Linked DNA regions of Homo sapiens: all the other regions are linked to region 1. Evidence: promoter capture Hi-C in human tissues and cell types (Jung and others, 2019). All regions are on one chromosome and are shown on one strand. Each heading gives the region's core, a stretch centred on a gene start or on the middle of the fragment in contact. The rest is flanking DNA. Distances are from core to core; before and after follow the strand shown. Region 1 holds the start of PTPN9 (protein tyrosine phosphatase non-receptor type 9). Region 2 holds the start of UBE2Q2 (ubiquitin conjugating enzyme E2 Q2). Region 3 holds the start of FBXO22 (F-box protein 22).

Region 1 (4,167 bases), core at 796-3,295:
GGGGAGGTTTAGACTCTTGGAGCCCATGGCTGCATGACCCCTAAATTGTAATTTCTAATCTTGTAGCTTAATCTGTTAGTCCTGCAAAGGCAGACTGGACCCCAGGGAAGAAGGGGGTCTTTTCGGGAAAGGGCTATTATCAATTTTGTTTCAGAGTCAAACCATGAACTGAATTCCTTCCCAAAGTTAGTTCGGCCTATGCCCAGGAATGAACAAGGACAGCTTAAGGGTTAGAAACAAGATAGAGTCAGTTAGGTCTGATTTCTTTCACTGTCATAAAATCATCAGTTATAATTTTGCAAAGGCAGTTTACCAGGAGTTTGAGACCAGCCTGGGCAACATAGTAAGACCCCTATCTCTACCAAAAAAAAAAAAAAAAAAATTAGCCAGGTGCAGTGGTGTGCACCTGTAGTCCCACCTACTCAGGAGGCTGAGGCGGGAGGATTGCTTGAGCCCAGGACTTTGAAGCTGCAGTGAGCTGTGATCACGCCACTGCACTCCAGCCTGGGCAACAAAGTGAGACCCTGTGTTAAAACAACAACAACAACAACAACAACTTTGGGAGGCCGAGGTGGGCGGATCACGAGGTCAGGAGATTGAGACCATCCTGGCTAACATGGTGAAAGCCCGTCTCTACTAAAAATACAAAAAAATAAAAAAAATAAAAATAAAAATTAGCCGGGCGCGGTGGCGGGTGCCTGTAGTCCCAGCTACTTGGGAGCCTGAGGCAGGAGAATGGCGTGAACCTGGGAGGGGGAGCTTGCAGTGAGCCGAGATCGCGCCACTGCACTCCAGCCTGGGTGACAGAGTGAGACTCCGTCTCAAAAAAAGAAAAACAAAAAAGCCAGGCGCGCGGTGGCTCACGCCTGCCTGTAATCCCAGCACTTTGGAAGACCGAGGCGGGCGGATCACAAGGTCAGGAGTTCGAGACCAGCCTGACCAACATGGTGAAACCCCGTCTCTACTAAAAATACAAAAATTAGCCGGGCGTGGTGGCTCGCACCTGTAATCCCAGCTACCCAGGAGGCTGAGGCAGGAGAATCGCTTGACCCCGGGAGGTGGAGGTTGCAGTGAGCCGAGATCGCGCCACTGCACTCCAGCCTGGGCGACACAGAGACTCCGTCTCAAAAAAAAAAATAAAAAAAAAATCATAGGAGCATCACAACTCACAGCACCTTCCTGTTGTCTGAAGGCCCCTCCTTTGGGTCCCTCAGGACTGGCTCCAGGGCTTCAGCCTTGGAACTAGTTGTGGACTTTGGGTCCCTTTGGAATATTTATCTTTGGCTTGGAATAATGCAACAACGTACCAGACCCAGCCTTGCCTTCTCTATGCCCCATTCCTCCCCAAATGACTCCAAGACTGTACCCCTAATCCTGAACCCTTTGCTGCACTTGCCCTAGTGAAAATCAAAGGTCTGCAAAGGCCGCGTCATTCCTGAATGATGTTCGGAGTCTGATGTCGTTTCTATGGGGGATTAAAATTAGCGACACTGGAGATGAATTACAGGGTGCAGCCAGTAAGGAGGGAGAGAGAGGGAGGCAGGTGCGATTCCTTCCACCTAAGCATCCTGGCCTGGCAGGCAACCTTTCCAGGGTCTTTCAGGCTGCAAGCGACAAATAGTTGAGGATTGTGGGTTTCTCACGCGTAGGTGGCAGCGGCAAGTTAACCCCAGGAGAGGTGCCAGTCAGCAGATAATTTGCAAACGAACGTATTCTCCTCCTCCTCCGAGGATCTGAGCCTCACGAAATACTCTTTTCTTCCTTTTTCTCCCTCCCGCAGTCGAGTTGCCTTCCGTCCAGCTAGGGTCCCCTCCCCGCCCGGGTCCCCTCCCCCTCCCGGTCCCCTCCCCCGCCCGGGCTCCTCTCTGTCTCCCCCTCCCGGACTGCGTCCTCGCTCCGCCGGGCCCTCCTCGCCGCCAGCTTGTGAATGAGACGCTCAGTTTCTCAATGGAGCCGCGGGGGGCTCGGGCGGCCGCGGGGCGGCCGCAGCGTTGGCCGTGAGTCAGGAGGGGGGCGCGTTTCCCTCGCTCCCTCTCCACTCCCTCCCTTTCGCTGCGGCCGCCCGCGAGGAGCCTGGCTGAGGCAGCCGCGCAGGTCGCAGGGCCAGCGTCCGCGAGGACGGCCCGGCTGGGCGGCCCCGAGCTCTGTGGCGCTGTGGAGGAGCGGGAGCGCGGCCGAGGAAGCGGGGCGCCGAGGGGGTCGGCGGCCTTCGGGAAATTTCCGCCGACCCTTCGCTCCCGGCTCTAAAAGTTCCTGATTTCCTATTTCCTTTTAAATCCCGAGTGGCTGTTAGCTCTTCGCCTGCACTTTTTCTTCCCCAGGAGATAAGGGGGAGTGTGAGGAACGGAGCGAATAATATAAAAAAGGATTTCCTCCCGGAAGAGAGCGGCAGTTCGGAGAGATTTTTCTTAAGGAAGCAGAAGCGGCGTTTGCGGCCGCTGCAGGCGCCGGGCCCTGCCGGCCACACTATGCGCGAGCCGGCCCCGGGCTGCTGAGGCGCGGGGACGCGGAAGCGGAGGCCGAGCGCGCCGGGCTCCCGCGCTCGCGAGCGAGTTTTGTCCGCCCGGCGGCGGTGGCGGGGGGATGGAGCCCGCGACCGCGCCCCGGCCCGACATGGCGCCGGAGCTGACCCCGGAGGAGGAGCAGGTAAGCGGGCCCGAGGCCGCCGCGTTGGGTGTGTCCGGGCCCCCGAGGCCTACGCCGGCCTCTGCCTCCCGAGTGCCGGCTCTTTGCAGCCACGGGGCCGCAGCCCCCCGCTCCCGTGCCCGGCTCGCGGGCCTCCCTCACCGGCGACCGCGCCCCAGGCCGCCACCCCCTCGTCGGGGGACCCACGGGACCCTACTCCCGTTCCCGCCGCTTCTTTCGCCGAGGCTTACCAGCCTCAGACGGTGCCCTCCGCACCCCACCCCCTATTCCAGGGGCAAAGTTCCTTGGATCCAGGGGCCTTCTTCCCGAGATTTGCAGAACCGCTGCTTGCCCCCGGCCCTTCCACTCCCTTGTAAATGTTTTCCGTGAGGGTTTGTGGCTTTTGAAGGGCAGGAAAAGCCCCAGTTTGGGGGGTGCTTCCTGTGGGGATTATCTCCCTTCCCGAGGAGAGGGCTGAGAGTATTGGATGCATAGATGCCCTAGATTTTCAGAGGAGCCTCTTAGGTTTCTCAGGCCCACTTGGGCAGGTTATGGAAGATCCAGCCCTTCTCGTGTTCCTAAAGTCCCTGGCCTTGACCCCCCTATTCAGCTATCCCAGACGGGGCGCATCTCCTCACCCGCGCTTCCCTACCCTCGTCTCATCTGACTGTCTCCATCTTTCTGAAGCTTACATTGAGCTCTATTGTTCCTTAAAAGCCTATGACCTTTAGTTTTCAGAAGGAAGTGGTTTGCTGTCTCATTTTGGGGGCCCTTGTAACTTTCCCTCCCGCACATTCCAGCTGCGGAGACAGGGACCACTCCTGAGGAAGATGGGAAGGTCTGCTAGCTTAGACTGGGAACCCTACGGGCTTTTCGCTGTCTCTTCCTTGGCACTGCCCATACCCCGCCATAGCTATGCTCGATTATAGTCATAGTCTGATTCCATGTTATAAATAAAAAAAATAAAAATAAACATGAAAAAAGAAAAAGGCAAACCATGCTGGCAACCCATTTCAAGCTCTACAGCTCTTGTTTCCAAGGACCACATTTGCTAGCACAGCCTCTAGTGTGAAGACAGTCCAGTTTTACAAACTATTATTGGCTAATGGGCTTGTTGACCTGATTTTTTAAAGTCCTTGTCTTTTCTCCTTATTTGTGGAGATGACATTTTTCTATTTGGCCTCAGGCCACGGTTTTGTCTTTTGACACCTGGTGATGAAATCTGTATGGGAAAAAAATTTAAAAAGAATTCTGCTTTGTACAAGCAGTGGTAATGAATGTCCTGGTAACTGCAGTTGGATGTTAATAAAATGCTAGTCAGACCCTAGTGCAAGCAGGTGGCCAAGGAGCCCATTCTGCCAGAATTGGGAAGTACTTCAGTACTAAGATAGGATGTGTTGGCTGATTTTAAAGGGACAAAATCTCTTTCTTTCATCCTTTTCCTTGGGTCAGTCAGATTTCTGTTTTTAAGACTTAAAGCCATCAGTATTCTATGCAAATAGCATCCGTTGCAAATTTGAAAACTAAAACCAGGAAAAGTAA
Region 2 (4,178 bases), core at 1,679-4,178, 260 kb before region 1:
TCCCAGCTACTCGGGAGGCGGTGGCAGCAGAATTGCTTGAACCTGGGAGGCGGAGGTTGCAGTGGGCCCAGGTCACACCACTGCACTCCAGCTGGGACGACACAGCGAGACTCCGTCTCAAAAAATAATAATAAAAAATAAAAGAGTCTTTTACCTTCAAAAGATACAAGCAGAAATATTTACAGATGAAGTGATCTGTCTGGAATCTGCTTCAAAATAATCTAAAGTGGAGTACAGATGAAGATTAGCCAAAAGTTTATCATTGTTGAGGCTGGCTACATTACACTGTTCAACTTTTGTACATTTGATGATTTTCCATAATAAAAAGTTAGCAGACATTTGTACTGAGCAGCTGCCATGATAATTATCTCCTGATAGTCTGTCATATTTCACTAGCAAGTCAATTTTAATAGTTTCTACCTAGCGGTGGGTGCCATTACACTAGTCCTCACTAAATCCTCCTTGTACTGAAAGTGTCTCATTCACTTCTTGCTCCATTTCTGTTGCCACTGCCTAATCCAGGTCATCACTCCTTATTTTTATCTGCAGCAGACTCTTACCAGCCTTCAATATGGTTCTCGATGGGGCACCAGTGGCACTTTAGGTGGGATAATTCTTTGCTGTGGCAGACTGCCTGAACGTTGCAAAACATTTGGTATCCCTGTACTCCTAGCACTAAATGCCGGCACAGCAATAAGACCACCCCACCCCCACTGGGATAACCACATTTCCTAATGCCACCCACTGTAGAGAACCATTTCTAATCCTGGATGAAAGATACATTCTCCCAACTTACCTGAGTAAACTTAGTAGCTCCCCACAGCCTACAAATTCAGTCTCCTATCATTCAAACCAGCCCTACCTTTTCGTGGCCATGCCCCAACTTCTACCAGAGTAATCACCCTCGAAGCCATTCAGGCCCGTCTCCTTAAAACACCTGCTTCATGACAACTACTACACTTTCTGTTTTCCACTCTTGGAAAATCCTCCCCTTCTCCAGCCTGTATCGTGGGCTTCTCAAGTCTTAGCATAAATTTTCTACTTCTAAGGAAACCACACTTTCTCAAATCTCCGTGTCTTCTTTGGGTGGAGTTTCCTCAGTCTAAAATGCCCTTCCGCCAGCCTTCCAAAATTGTAGTCACCTGTGGAAGCTCATCTCTAACTGTCTCAGCCTCTCATCAAAGCCTTCCCTGAAGCGCACCTCCCCCAAGTCAAAATTAGTTGCTTTGGCTTTCCTGATGATACCACAGGAGCTGTCACCTTATTGAACTCTTCCCCCAAGAAGACTGAGTTCTGAGAGCGAGGACGACTTCACTCAATTCTGCAACACTAGTGCCCAGAACACTCAGACGTATTCATTCAATAAATGAATTATCTCCTCAGTACAGCACTTGTCTTTTTTTTTTTGAAATTAACACACCTTCTGCCCAGATAGTCTGGTAACCATTTTAAGGTCAATTATAACATCAAGGTTTTTGCAAACGCCAGCCACCCTGCAGGCACTTGAGTACCCACTGACTCAACCAAAGGGAGTTAAAAACAAGACTTGGTTTTAGCCATGTTTGAAAAGGAGCCCGAAGCCACCACCTTGACGCCTATTATAACCAAGAGAATATTCTGCAGTTTGGACCAATATCCTACATCAATTTCACGACGAATAGCTTCACGATACACTTTTATGGAGAAACTTAATACTTCAATTCCTTTACCAAGCCTTGGGTTTCTAATGAGATTTCCGCTTAATGAGTGAGTTTTTAAAAGTGTCTTTTCGGCTTTGTGACATACGTGATCTTTCCGGGGAGCAGCCCTGGCGCGTATCTCCTTTCACCTATCCATTTTCGAGGCTTACACACAAGGGAGGGGCCACACGAATACACACTCAACACCACCTGCCGCAACGACGGTACTATGCTCCTTTCCAGAACACAGCAGCGCGCAGCCAGGCCCGGGGGAGAGGGGTCGCTCAAACAGCACCAGAGTCTGCATTCCAACTTTTCCTCCGTCAACGAGTCCATTCTCATTGTCAGTTTCTCCTTAAACGCAAACTTAAAAACAATTGGCTGAACAAGCGGGAAGAAGGAAAATCCGACTGAAAAATGAGGCGTTAAAACTTAAGGGCCGTTCCCCTTGCCGGCCTGGGCTCAAACAACAGCCGGAGCTGCGCCGCCCCGCCCCGCCCCGCCCCGGTCCCGGGAGCAGGCCGGCTGAGGGCGGCCATGGACCCCACAAGGGCTTGGGCCGCCGCGGACTCCCCCCTCGGGGCTAGGAGACGGGGACCGAGATGGGCCAGAAGCCCCCAAGCCAGCCCCTGGCGAGAAGCCGGAAAGACGCGCCCTCCGCCTCCTCCCACCCAAGCCTCGCGCAGTCCCAGCCCGGCCTGGGATGGGCAAGTCGCGGGGGAAAGGGGCGGGCCTGCCCCGCCCGGGGAGCCGGAGCCTCTCCGGGGCAGGCTCCCCTTTGTCCCGGGACTCGAAGCGCCCCCTCTCCGTCCTCGCCCTGCCCCGCGGGGCCGCGGCCGGGCGCCTCACCGTGATGTTGCAGTGGAGCGTGAGTGGCGGCGGCAGCGAGTGCGGGCTGCCCTGCTGCGGCACCAGGAACTGGCAGTGCAGCTCGTCCAGCTTCCAACTGACGATGCGGAATCGCTCGTGGTTCTTGTCGAAGATGGACGCCAGGAACTTCAGCTCGGCCTTGAGCCCTGACACGGACATCTTCCCCTCATCTCCGGCGGGAGGGGCGCGGAAGGGGAGCCGGGCGCGGAAGGGGAGCCGGGCCCGGAGCCGCCGTCACGGCCGCGACCGCCCCGCGGGGCCGGCCTGGGCCGCGCTCTCGCGGCTCCGCCTCGTCGAGCGCTGCTGGAAAATGGCGAGGGGCGCGGAAGCCTCGGCGTGTGGCGGCCTGGGTGGCGCTTCCTTTGTAACCGACTCCAGCGGCAGGAGGCGGCGGCCCCGCGGCTTAAAAGGGCAACAGCGACGCCGCCCCCGCTACCGCCTGGGAAAGGGCTGCCCCCACCCCGCCCCCGTCCCCCTCACCCTGGCGCGCCCTGCGCGCTCCGGTTTCAGCGCGTGCACGAGGCCAGAGCGCGCGCGCCCGGCCGCCCCCTCCTCGCCTTGACCCAGCTCCCTTGTTCCCGACCCATCTGCTCCGTTCTTCGCACCCGCGGACTGGAGGCTCGGGGCCAGCTGGCGCCCGGGCCCCAGAAGTCGGGGAGGAGCCGGAGACCCCCGCGCGCCCCCGCCCCCGGCCTGGAGCCGGACACGTGCGTGGCGGATCGCGCCGGCCACGTCGGCGCCGCTGCAGACTAGCGCCAGCCCCTGGGGGCGGCTCCTCAGCTTGGCGCTCGGCGCGGCACCCGCTAACCTCACTGGGGGGACCTCGTGGGAGACGCGGGTGCGGCTCACCCAGCGTTACCTCCGCTACTTTCACCCTAGTCCGAGCCACCGCTTCGCTAGCCTGGGTTCCTGTGAGGACCTTCTCACCAGCCTGGGTTCCTGTGAGGACCTTCTCACCGGACTCGCTGCTCCCGCCTTTGCTCTCAAACCATCCATTTACCCAAGACGATGGTTTAGCCCCTGGAGGCTGTTGCCTGGAGGTGTCCCATGATTTCATCCCTTCCCTTAGCTACCACCTGTGTTCACTCTGCCGTATATAGTCTCTCTCTCCCCCCTTTCCTTATTTTGCCTTGTTTCCCAAGCTTAAGATAACCCTCCCCACCCACACCCCCATGGAGCTAGGGCTGCCCACTATTTTCACTAAACTCATAGCTCAAATATCATCTCCGGCACCCCCCACCACAACCCATTTCAAATAGTCACCCTGTGTCACATCGTCCTGTGCTAAGTTTTTGTTGGGCACCTGTCACTATCTGATCTTTAACCCATTTATTCCTTGTCTCTGCCCCGTGTTAATGTGTTCAGAGCTGTATCCCCAGGACCTAGAACAAGACCTGTTATATAGTAGAAACCCGATATGATTGAATTGAATGCTCGCTCTTATCTGGAATCCCCACCACTAGCACAATTCCTGGCACATTGTAGGTGCTCAAAAAATGAATAAAGGTCTGGATAGCAGTCCAAAGGAATACATCCCAATTTGGCAGACAATAGTGTGTGCAATCGTAAGTGCAAGAGGCAGGACCAGCTGCATATGCGTCCAACCTATGTAGTTGCACAGTGCTCCCA
Region 3 (3,968 bases), core at 282-2,781, 320 kb before region 1:
GCAGCCCCTCTGACTCCACAGTTCGAGTCTTCATCTCTCCTGGTGTTGGCTCCCCTTTTGAAGTTGGGGGCCAGAGAAGCAAAAGAGTACAGGATCAGAAGTTGAAATATTTGGCTTTAAGTTTTGGTTCTTGGCTTTCTAGGTGTGCTCACTGAGCAAGACACACCCAGTTGTCTTCCCGGTAAAACAGACAACAAAAAGTTGCTTCAAGGGAAGCAGGTGAAGGGAAGGTTCTGCACAGCGTTGTTGTTAATAGTGAAAATGTGGATACTTAAAAGGCCCAACATGCCGGGCGCGGTGGCTCACGCCTGTAATCCCAGCACTTTGGGAGGCCGAGGCGGGCGGATCACGAGGTCAGGAGATCGAGACCATTCTGGCTAACACGGTGAAACCCCATCTCTACTAAAAATACAAAAAATTAGCTGGGCATGGTGGCGGGCGCCTGTAGTCCCAGCTACTCGGGAGGCTGAGGCAGGAGAATGGCGTGAACCCGGGAGGCGGAGCTTGCGGTGAGCCGAGATCGCGCCACTGCACTCCAGCCTGGGCCACAGAGCGAGACTACGTCTCAAAAAAAAAAAAAAAGGCCCAACATTTGATGAACGGTCAAATAAATCATGACACATCCTTACCGTGTAGTCACTAAAACTGATGTTTACAAAATCTTTTCACGGAACGAGATGTTCCTTTAATTAACAAAACTGGGATTTAAAAAAAAATAGTTCTCAAAGACTGAACCACCAACCTGCAAATGACTGTGCATGACACCCCTTGCTACTTGCCTCAAGCTCCTCTGCTACCACGCGAACCAAGCAATGCCCCTCCAGGTGGCCGGCCTCCGCCAGGCCTGCGGAGATCCAGGTTACGCTCCGATGGGTCCGCAATACTCTGCGCACACACTCCCTCCATAAGCGGCACACGCTGAGGACGCAAACGCACAAAGGATTGCGAACGGACGTTCATTTTCGTCTCTCCCACAGCTCACAAACCCCCACCCGCTGGCGCAGCAGCAGGAGATCCCTGCGGGATCCAAAGTCCCCGGGGTAGGTAGGTGTCAGTCAGGGCGCTAGTTCGGAAGAAGAGCCAGATATGGAGAAAACCTTAAGGGGAACTTCGCCCCTCAGGGAAGTCCCCCCGGGGCACCACGGCTGGGAGATACCTCGCGGGTAGGGGGTCACCTCAGGTAGGGCGAGCGAGCCGGGGACGGCCCTGGTGGGTCCCAAGGGTCTCTCCCCCCACCCCGCCAGCCTGGGACATGCCCACGGCGTGTCCCCAGGCAAGCTTCCCGCCTCCGCCTCCTCTCCTCACCAGGCCACCCGCAGCAACGCCTTGGCGGGCAGGAAGGTGAGCACACGCTCCACCACCTCCGCCAGGTTACTCAACACGAAGGTGCTCCGCGGGTCTACGGAGGAGCCGCGGCACTCGCCGCAGCAGCCTACCGGCTCCATTCCTCACCAGCCCGCCGGAACCAGTCCTACGGCGGCTCGGAGGAACCCGATTACGCCAGCATAGGGTTGCCCGGCCGGCGCGCACTGAGCAGGCGTCCGCGCCACTTCCGGCTGGACGGGGAAGGTGGGCGTGGCAACGCCGGTGCGTTCCCTCGTCTGGAGCCCGTACTCCGAGGTGTACTCCGTTCCGTAATACGCTCGGAACTGTTTTCTTCATTTTTGAGATTGGGTCTAATGCTGTGGCCAGGCGGGAGTGGAGTGGCGCGGCCTCTGCTCACTGCAGCTTCTACCTCCCAGGCTCAAGCGATCCTCCCGCCTCAGCCTCCCTCGTAGCTTTAACTACAAGCTCCCGCCACCACGCCCAGCTAATTTTTGTATTTTTTGTAGAGACGGGTTTCCAGGCTGGTCTGAAACTCCAGGGCTCAAGCGATACTCCCGCCTGGGCCTCCCAAGGTGCTGGAATTACAGACATAAGCCACCGCTCCTGGCAACTTTCTAGGAGGCCTCCTGCAGTGAAAATAAATTCTTCTTCTGTGCCTGTGCCTCTCACTGCCCTGGCACCGCCATATTTCTGAGTTTACATCTTTCTCTAATTCACAAATTCCTTGCAGGGACTAGGTAGTACTTATTGCTCTTCGTAGTCCCAATGCCTGTTTAAATAGCATAAGCTCGATTTATAAACGGACGTTTGCTTTTAAAAAATTGTCTTAGTGTGTGAAAATCACTGCCTTTATTCCTTGTAAACTTAGTTAACTCGTTGTAATCTTCAGGTTTAAAGTTTCGAATGAGTAAAATGGCATAAATAGCACCTGCCATTCTAAGGTAGCTGAGTGAGATGATTGCTGTGAAGCACGCCCCAAGCTGTGCACCAGTTCCCCGCCAGGGACATCAGATTCACCTGGAAACTACTAAGTTTTAGCACATTCCCGGTCCTTATCCCAGACCTCCTGAATCAGACACTGGGGGTGAGGCCCAGCAATCTGTTTTAACACACTTTATGACGATTCTGATGCATGCTCAAACTGAGAACCACCAAGAAATGGAAGCACAGCAGACACAGGTTTGTCCCCACCTAACATCCATTCCTCCCGCCAATTCCTTCCTAAGGGAGCCCTGATTTGATCGCCAGATCTTGGGCAGAAACTTGGTCTAAATTAGCAGTTCTCATTATGGCCTCAGGACCCTTTACACCCTAAAATATTGACACGACCAATAGTTTATGTGTGTTATGACTATCAATATTTACCATATTAAAAATTAAATCAGAACATCTTAATGCTTAACTCTTTTTAAAAAACCGATGTTATACATTAACGAAATATTTTTATGGAAAACAATTATTTCCCAAATCCTCCTTCCCCCACTGGTGGATAGTATGACATTGTCAGTGGCATAAGCCTCCTGAGTAGCTGTGGTTTTTTTCTTTTTTTTGGTAGACCCAGGGTCTATGTTGCCCAGGCTGGTCTCAAACTCCTGGCCTCAAGACATCCCTCTGCCTCCGCCTCCCAAAGCGTTGAGATTACAGGTATGAGCCACCAAGCCCAGCCAGTTTTTTCCCATAGTCTATTTATAGGCGCAGCTGCTTAAGGAAGCCAGATGGCCCAGATGTCACCAGAGCTTCCTGACCCCTTGCGGAATACCAGAGGAAGATAAACAGGCGCCCTCCAGTTACCTTTAGATAATTAACATAATGCTAAAATCCTCTCCCTAAAGAAAGCTCACTGGCATCTTACGAACATGGATGTATGAAGCAGCATGTTCAGGGACTATGCCTGCTTGTCTGGAACTCCAGTCTGTGCATGCCGTTCATACCTCCCCCGCCCCTCAGCTAACTCTTTAAACTCCCCAGCCTCCCATCCCTCTGGGAGAAGGTGCCTTTAGAGTATGAGCTCCCCTTCTCCATTCTCTGGCTACTGAATGAAACCTGACTGCCTTTCAAAGTGGGCGTTCTTTCTTTGTGGCTGATATAAAGTAGGGAAAGAGGACAGTTTACCAGTGACGGCATCACTACATTTTTGCAAATATTTAATTTGTCTTAATAGAAGACAAATAGATTCTCATATTTGCTTCTGAATTCAATCTGTTGCAAAATCACATCATGTAGCCTCTGGAAAATTCCATTGTACACATGGAAGAATGAGTGAAAATGGCAAATGTTTTAATATTATGAAAATAGTCTTTTAAAACCTCTTGAAATGGTCTCAGGGGTCTCCAGTGTTCCCCAAATAAGGCTTTGAGAACCATTTGTGCAAACTAATCACGATGGTTTCATTCTTTTCACCACCATTGGTTTAGGGGTGGGCACAGGTCCCTGATGTAGCCAAGGAAAGGCAAGAGGCAGTGTGCTTGATGGGATGGTGCTTTTAGAGATTTCCTCACCTCCTAAGGAGACACTAGAAGACAGGGCCATTTATCTACCTCTGGATCAAGTAAGGGGGCTGCACATAACATGCAACCAAAAGATGAAACCAACATAGAAAAATCTCAAGGAAGCAGAGCAAAGCCCAGATGTACAGTACCTGG

The links. Contacts are between HindIII fragments. The study calls those that stand out against the background at their distance.
Region 2: a contact is called between the fragment with the promoter of UBE2Q2 here and the fragment with the promoter of PTPN9 in region 1, in 1 of the 25 tissues and cell types used here (heart right ventricle).
Region 3: the fragment with the promoter of FBXO22 here is called in contact with the fragment with the promoter of PTPN9 in region 1 in 1 of the 25 tissues and cell types used here (IMR-90 fibroblasts).

What each region holds. Positions count from the first base shown.
Region 1 is chr15:75,577,193-75,581,359 of GRCh38, reverse strand. PTPN9 (protein tyrosine phosphatase non-receptor type 9) reads left to right here and starts at 2,045. Exons shown (of 13, transcript NM_002833.4): 1 at 2,045-2,646. The coding sequence starts at 2,584. RefSeq lists silencers at 1,688-2,177, 2,438-2,837 and an enhancer at 1,880-2,478. The HindIII fragment of the contact is 16,601 bases long and covers 1-4,167 here.
Region 2 is chr15:75,842,197-75,846,374 of GRCh38, reverse strand. It overlaps UBE2Q2 (ubiquitin conjugating enzyme E2 Q2), which reads right to left and starts at 2,928. Exons shown (of 13, transcript NM_173469.4): 1 at 2,529-2,928. The coding sequence starts at 2,708. RefSeq lists silencers at 2,118-2,517, 2,768-2,847, 2,988-3,127, 3,168-3,347 and an enhancer at 1,949-2,846. The HindIII fragment of the contact is 12,421 bases long and covers 1-4,178 here.
Region 3 is chr15:75,901,441-75,905,408 of GRCh38, reverse strand. It overlaps FBXO22 (F-box protein 22), which reads right to left and starts at 1,531. Exons shown (of 7, transcript NM_147188.3): 1 at 1,306-1,531; 2 at 780-918. The coding sequence starts at 1,445. RefSeq lists a silencer at 1,140-1,209 and enhancers at 1,260-1,309, 1,330-1,429, 1,046-1,703, 1,790-1,879, 1,704-2,363. The HindIII fragment of the contact is 6,006 bases long and covers 492-3,968 here.